2 separate regions of the Homo sapiens genome follow, and region 2 is linked to region 1. Evidence: promoter capture Hi-C in human tissues and cell types (Jung and others, 2019). All regions are on one chromosome and are shown on one strand. Each heading gives the region's core, a stretch centred on a gene start or on the middle of the fragment in contact. The rest is flanking DNA. Distances are from core to core; before and after follow the strand shown. Region 1 holds the start of ZNF354B (zinc finger protein 354B). Region 2 overlaps ZFP2 (ZFP2 zinc finger protein).

Region 1 (3,514 bases), core at 308-2,807:
ACAAAAAACTAACAACGATGCGTTGGAGAAGCCTGGGGAAGGGGTGGTGTTATGAGGATTCTCAGGGGTGAAAAGAGAAAGTATTCCTGCGAAGGACAGGAACGGAGACATGGGTGAGTGGAGGAGGCAGGGATTTTTCCCACGTGTGTACGTTTGCTCTTAGTGACAGACAGACTTGTGGTATCTTACTTGTCAAACTAGTCACACAATGGATGAAGATTCGTGAACAAACTGTTAATTAAAAACCACTAGACACGGGTGGGGAGGGTGGGTGGTCCTCCCTACAGAATCCACCAGTCATGAGGGCGGACCAGCTCCTCCAAGAGAAAAGGACTTGGGCTCCATCCTGGCTGGAGATGGTCCCGGGTGAAGAACTCCAGTTAGTGGGGAAAATCCATCCACTGGGATCTGGGAGGGCAATGAGCTCACCTGGGGCCTCGCTTCCCGCTGCCCAGCAGCCATGTCCTCTTTCTGGCTCTCCCGGGAGGACGGCGCAGTCTCCAGAAGGCAGATCTGAGAAGAAAAAGGGAGCCAGGAAGAACCCCTTCTGCTTTCCAGCCCTGGAATCCGCAGCTCTAAAACCCCGACTCCCGCTGAGAAGGACCCCGCGCGCCCTCACAGGGATTCGGGAGGAGCCAGGAGCCCGCGGACCAGAGCAGCGCTGGGCCGCCCGGCCAGGCCCAGGCCCCACAGGCTTGGGGCTTACGGAGGGGACGCTGGACCCGCAGTGGCAGCAGCGACCCGCTGAGCCCACCAGGGCCAGGGCTCGCCCCACGCCGCTGAGTTCCTCGGCGCCAGCTGGCACTGCCAGCACCCACTGCACCGCTCAGGAAACTGAGGCAGCGCCGGGGCACCTGCCCCGTTCACGCCGCTGCGAGGCGGGCCGGGACTCCCACCACGACGGCCCCGGGACGACTTCCCTCCGCCTCAAGCCTTTCCCAGCCGGTTCCTCTCTCTCCCGCCAACGAATCGTCTCCCGACTCCACGGAAAACGGCTTTGAAGAGGAAAGCGCTGGGTGTCCCGAGGCAGGAGGAGTGGCCGTCCTGGGGACTGACTCAGAAACCGGGCCCGGCTGCCTCTGCCCTGCGCTCGGGGTCCCGGCGCCCCGAGTCCGCGAGGCCCACACGGCGCGCGCAGGGTGGGCCCGGGAGGAAACGCCTGGCCCCGCGTTCACGGCGGGCGGCGCGAGCCAGAGGCAGGGGCGTCGGCAGCGGCACCGGAGCGGCCCGTGAGGGGCGAGAGTCCAAGTCCTGGCGCGGGGGCCGGTGACAGACGCGGGGGTGCCCCCCCGCGCCCACAGAGGCCCTCGGAGCCCCGCGGCCTCAGGTCGCCCTGGCGCCAGGCGCCGCCTCCTCCCGGCACAGCCAGCCATGCCGCTCACCTCCCCAGGATCCCGCGTTCCCGGGCCGCGCCTCCCCGCCGCACTCTGCAAGCAGGAAGCTCCAGCCTCGTGACCCGGCTCCTCCGACGTCTGGGCGACCTCAAGCCCGGCGCCGCTCACCGGGCAGCGAAAGCTCCGCAGAGCGCCTGGGACCTAGAGGAGCAAGGCGGCCGCTAAGGCCTCTAGGAAATGGAGTCCACGGGAGGACGCTGGCTTTCTGGGAAGTGTAGTTCCACGCGTTTGAGGCGAGGTCGCAGCTGAGCTGTTAGGCGCCCAGACCTATGAGAGGGCCCGGGTGAGCTGTAGAGCCCCGGGTTCCTGGTTCTTCGGAAGAGAAGGGGAGGTTCCCGGAGGGCAGTAACTTGCAACTCTGTGTGTGAATTTCAGGATGGCGTGGGCGGCACGAAAACAACTACTACACAATTGGGAAAGGAAAATCCCCTGCAAAAGATGTTGACAAAGCTGGATTTCCACGTGCAAAAGATGAGCCTGTACCCTGACCGTACACCATACATAAAAATTAACTCAAAATTGATTAAAAACCTAAATGTGAGACCAAATTATTTTATAAATTACTAAAGTAAAAAGGGAAAAAACTTCAGGATGTTGGAGATGGCAATGATTTCTTGAATATGACATCAGAAGCACAGATAACAGCAAAAATAGACAAATGGGACTACATCAAACTTAAAAACTTTGGCTAATCAAAGGAAACAAAGGCAATCTACAGAATAGACGAAAATGCTTACATATCATATATCTGATTTGCAATGTATCCTGGATTTATATGGAACTTTTACAACTCAACAACAATAACAAAACCAAATAACCTGATTTTAAAATGGACAAAGGACTTGAATAGGCAATTCTCCAATGAAGATATACAAATGAGCAATGAGCAACAAGCATATAAAAAGATGGTAAACATCTCTAGGTATAAGAGAAATATAAACCCAAACTCAATGAGAAATCACTGCACCTCCATTAGGATGGCCACTATCAAAAGGATGTAAATTGGTACAATCATTACAGAAAACGGTATAGAGGTTCCTCAAAAAATTATAACTAGAGCTACATTAGGATCCACCAATCCCATTTCTGGCTATAGATCCAGAGGAAGTGAAACTCCGTGAGATACCTGCACTCCCATGTTAGCTGCAACATTATTCACCATGGCCAAGATATGGAAACAACTATCTGTTGATGGATGAATAGATAAAGGAAATGTTTTGTTTGTTTGTTTGTTTGGGACGGTGTCTTGCTCTGTCACCCAGGCTGGAGTGCAATGGCGCAATCTTGGCTCACTGCCACCTCCGCCTTCCAGGTTCAAGCAGTTCTCTGCCTCAGTCTCCCAAGTAGCAGGGATTACAGGCACCCGCGACCACGCCCAGCTAATTTTTGTAGTTTTAATAGAGATGGGGTTTCACCATCTTCACCAGGCTGGTCTTGAACTTCTGACCTCGTGATCCACCCTCCTCGGCCTCCCAAAGTGCTCGGATTACAGGCGTGAGCCACCGAGCCCGGCCACAATGTGTTTATATACACAAAGGAATATTATTCTGCCTTAAAAAAATAAAGAAATCCTGACATATGTGACAATATGGATGAACCCGGAGGACATTATGTTAAGTGAAATAAAGAAGGCACAGAAATACAAATACTGCATTATTTCATTTACACGTAGAATCTAAAATAGTCAAAATCATAGAAGAAAGTAGCATGGTGATTTCCCTGTGTGTTAATTACCAATCTTCCCATATAGGTAATTCCATATGGCACAACTGTCCCTTACTTGTAGAGCCACGCCCACCCTGTTGCCATGAACTGCAGGTGTCCTTCCATGGTTGCTTGCCCAGTGCAAGGCCCTGTTATCTCTCTCTACACTACTCTACACTTCCACAAGCTGCTGCTTCTGTTTTTTTTTGTTGTTGTTGTTGTTGTTTGTTTTTGTTTTTGAGAGACGGGGTCTCACTATGTTGCCCAGGCTGGTCTCAAACGCCTAGGCTCAAGTGATCCTCCCGCCTCGGCCTCCCAAAGTGCTGGGATTACAGGCGTGAGCCACTATGCCTGGTGTAAAAAAGATTTTTTAACAAAAATGAGATGTTTTATTGTCTTCTCTTTGCAATTAGAGT
Region 2 (3,514 bases), core at 712-3,211, 62 kb before region 1:
GAAAGGCAAAACACAGTCTTAAATATGAAGATTCAGTAATAACAGTACTCCTAAACCATTTCTGCTATTATTTAAATATTCAATTTGAATAAAAAATAAACATGAATGGGGAAGTTAGTTTGGGTATAAAAAGACTGGCAGTGACATGCTGAATCCACTTCAAGGATGAACCTCGAAGATATTATGCTAAGTGAAATAAGCCAGTCACGAAAAGACAAATATTGCATGATTCAACTCATATGAGGTATCTAGAGTAGTCAAATTCATAGAGGCAGAAAGCGGAGGTTACCAGGGGCTGGCGGAAGCGGGGAATGGGATGCTATTGCTTAAAGGATATAGAGTTTTCATTAGGAAAGATGAAAAAGTTCTGGAGACGGATGGCGGTGCTGGTTCCACAACAATGTGAATGTATTTAAATGCCTCCAAATGATACACTAAAAATGGCTAAAATGGCAAATTTTATGTTACGTATATTGTACACATATACACACAAACACAAAACATTACAATTAAAAAAAGACACCTAAAGAATTACATTTCAACTATCTGGGAAATCCTCATGTTTGAAAATTAAGCAGTGAATTTGTAAATTCTGAGAGGTCAAAGAGGAAATCACAATGGAATGAGATAATATTTTATGTGTTACAACCAAAGCAATGCTTAGAGGAAATTATATAGCTTTCAATATTTTTTTTTCTATTATAAATACTTTATTTCAACTAGAAGGTACAATCTCTCAGGGGTTTCATAGTTTAAAAAGCTACAATCACATCATGTTGTAACTACATAAAAAACAGTGCTGTAAATGGAACTGCTTGGCTTTGACCACACACATTTCTGCACAGCCCTTACAGAATCTGCACAAAGAAATATCTCCCTTTGCTCCAGTTAATTGTTCTTGTATGTAAGTTGCTTTCTATTCCAGTATATCCAGAGTGGTGAAATAACAAGGCCAGCCACGTGGACAAAGGTCGCTCCAAGCGTACAGGAGATGGGCCATACCTGCCATGCTCTTGCCCTGTCAAGGAATAGGACGTGCTCCAAGCCATGCTCCTACAAAACTAGACATTGCAGTGATCTGGAGACTATTCTCCCATATGGATGTAACTCCATTTCTACTGAAAACTCTTAGCCATGCTTTGAGGTTTGGTCCTAACAAACATAAGTAAGGCACAATAGTAAAAGTAGACAAAATAACTGCAAATAAAAATGTTTCCAATGCCAACTCTATTAGTGGTGCTCCATATAGAACAAAAATTACATGAAAGGAGAAACAAGACATAAGAAAGTAGATACAGCATTTCAAAAATCTGGTTACCTTGTATGATAATGAACTTATTTTAGAGGATGTATTTGGTTTCACTACTAAATATAGTACTAGACTGACAGCAGTTACAAAACCAGAACAGACGCACAACCATGTCAAGTGTGTTTCCAATATTGAGGAGTTCTCCAAGAAGAGTGATGGAATGAAGACACTTAGGATAATTGAAAATATGCATAAAAGATGGGTATACAGTAGTCTCTTGATATCGGTATCTTTCATGATGTTTTCTTGGGTGGCTAGCTGACTCTCCTGCCTGCGGAAGGAGCTTTAAATGTTTTTACAGTAAATAAGAATGGCCCATAATCTGTGACCTATGTTTCCACCTTAAGAAGTTAGACAAAGATCAAATTAAAACCAAAGTAGAGGATCCTCTTCCTGATAAGGTGGAGTAGGCCTATTCCACCATGTCTCTTCCACTGATAAACCCGAACAGAAAGCATGAAGCAATTATTTGAAGGCCCTGAGAAGTAAACAGTAGCAGGTGAATTGGGGAAGAGAACCAAAATCCAAAGTACCACTGAACCAGTGGTGAGCTTCCTTTTTTTCCTCAGCTGTCTTCTGTACTAAACTTATACAGCCATCTGAAAACAGGCACTGAGGCAGGAGAAGGCAGAGGAGGTTCTCCAGGAAAAGCTCTAGGGCCGGTTCATGGAGCAGGAAAAGGACTTCTAATGCTTAGAGAGAGCAGGGGGAATTGCCTATTTTTTCCCCTTTCTCTGTTCTATTGCACCCCAGCACTTAAGCAATCCTCTGGTGGCTGCTGCAACAGCAGTGCCACTGCAAGCTGACAGGAGCTCAAAAACATGAGGAGAGGGTCCTTCTTCCCCAAGCAAGGGATCTGTGGTCCCAAGAAGGGTAGCAAGAAGCCCCACTTCATCATCTTTTCTTTGTCCTCCTGCTGCTTGGCTCTACATAGGGATGGTCACTGGAAGTCACAGCAGAGCGGGGCAACTACAGGCCCCTGCCTTGTAGCCAGAAGAGTCAAAAGGACAGCCACAGGGAAGCTGAAACTACTGCGGACATAGACAGGGGAGAATTCGGGAACATGACCTTGGAAGTTATTTAAGAACTCCTGGGCTCACCTGCGAGATACATATGCATGAATCTGACCCCCTAAGCAGCACACGTGGACTTTGAGAATAAGAGGGACCGCTGCTTAAATTCCATACTGGCCACAGAGTGACACACATGTGAGCAAGATTCAAGCAACAATGTGAAGTCTCTGACAACCAAACTGACACAGAAACCACAACCCACAGAAAGCTGGTTGGACTTTGTAGTCTGAGCTCAACCAGGTTGACTGCCTGCTAACACAGAAATATCAACATTTTCTGTTGGATTTCAAGAAGACATAGAGTTTTATAACATAATATTCTAAATGCCCATGATACCTTTTGAAGTCACTGAGAATATAAAGACCCAGGAACATTTCAACTTACATGGGAAAAGATAACCAACAGACATCAAGTGAGATGATACAATTATCTTACAAGGACTTTAAAGCATCTGCCTTACTTGTTCCAACAAGTCAGAGTGAACACACTCTAAAGAAATGGAAATAAAATCTCAGCAAAGAAAATGAGCATATAAAAAGAACTAAGTGGAAATTCTGGAAGTGAAAAATATACAATTTTTTTTTTTTTTTTGAGACGAAGTCTCACTCTGTTGCCCAAGCTGGAGTGCAGTGGCGCGATCTCGACTCACTGCAACCTCTACCTCCCGGGTTCAAGCGATTCTCCTGCCTCAGCCTCCTGAGTAGCTGGGACTACAGGTACACGCCACCATGCCCGGCTAATTTTTGTATTTTTAGGAAAGACGGGGTTTCACTATGTTGGCCAGGCTGGTCTTGAAATCCTAACCTCGTGACCCACCAGCCTTGGCCTCTCAAAGTGCTGGGATTACAGGTGTGAGCCACCACACCTAGCCCTACAGTATTTTTAATATATAAACACTTATTTATTGATATAGAAAATAGAAATCTTGCTAAATAGGTCCAACAGCAGAAGGGTGAAAAAAGGAAAGAATTAACTTGAAGACAGATTAAAAGAAATTATTCAATCTGAACAACACAGAGAGAAAAGATTGAGAAAAAATAAAGATGAAGAGCACCTCAGGGATGTATGGGACAACAACAAAAGATCTCATATATGTCTCACTGGAGTCCCAGAGAAGGAGAAAATGTTTGGT

Evidence for each region. Contacts are between HindIII fragments. The study calls those that stand out against the background at their distance.
Region 2: a contact is called between a fragment that was not itself captured here and the fragment with the promoter of ZNF354B in region 1, in 1 of the 25 tissues and cell types used here (pancreas).

Annotation. Positions count from the first base shown.
Region 1 is chr5:178,857,996-178,861,509 of GRCh38, reverse strand. It overlaps ZNF354B (zinc finger protein 354B), which reads right to left and starts at 1,557. Exons shown (of 5, transcript NM_058230.3): 1 at 1,383-1,557; 2 at 430-513. The coding sequence starts at 462. RefSeq lists silencers at 991-1,070, 1,151-1,350 and enhancers at 1,491-1,690, 975-1,707. The HindIII fragment of the contact is 12,564 bases long and covers 1-3,514 here.
Region 2 is chr5:178,920,096-178,923,609 of GRCh38, reverse strand. All of the region lies in intron 4 of ZFP2 (ZFP2 zinc finger protein), which reads right to left. It also overlaps the pseudogene PIGFP1. Among named protein-coding and RNA genes, the nearest start is that of ZNF454-DT, 19 kb to the left of the region's middle. The HindIII fragment of the contact is 5,302 bases long and covers 1-3,514 here.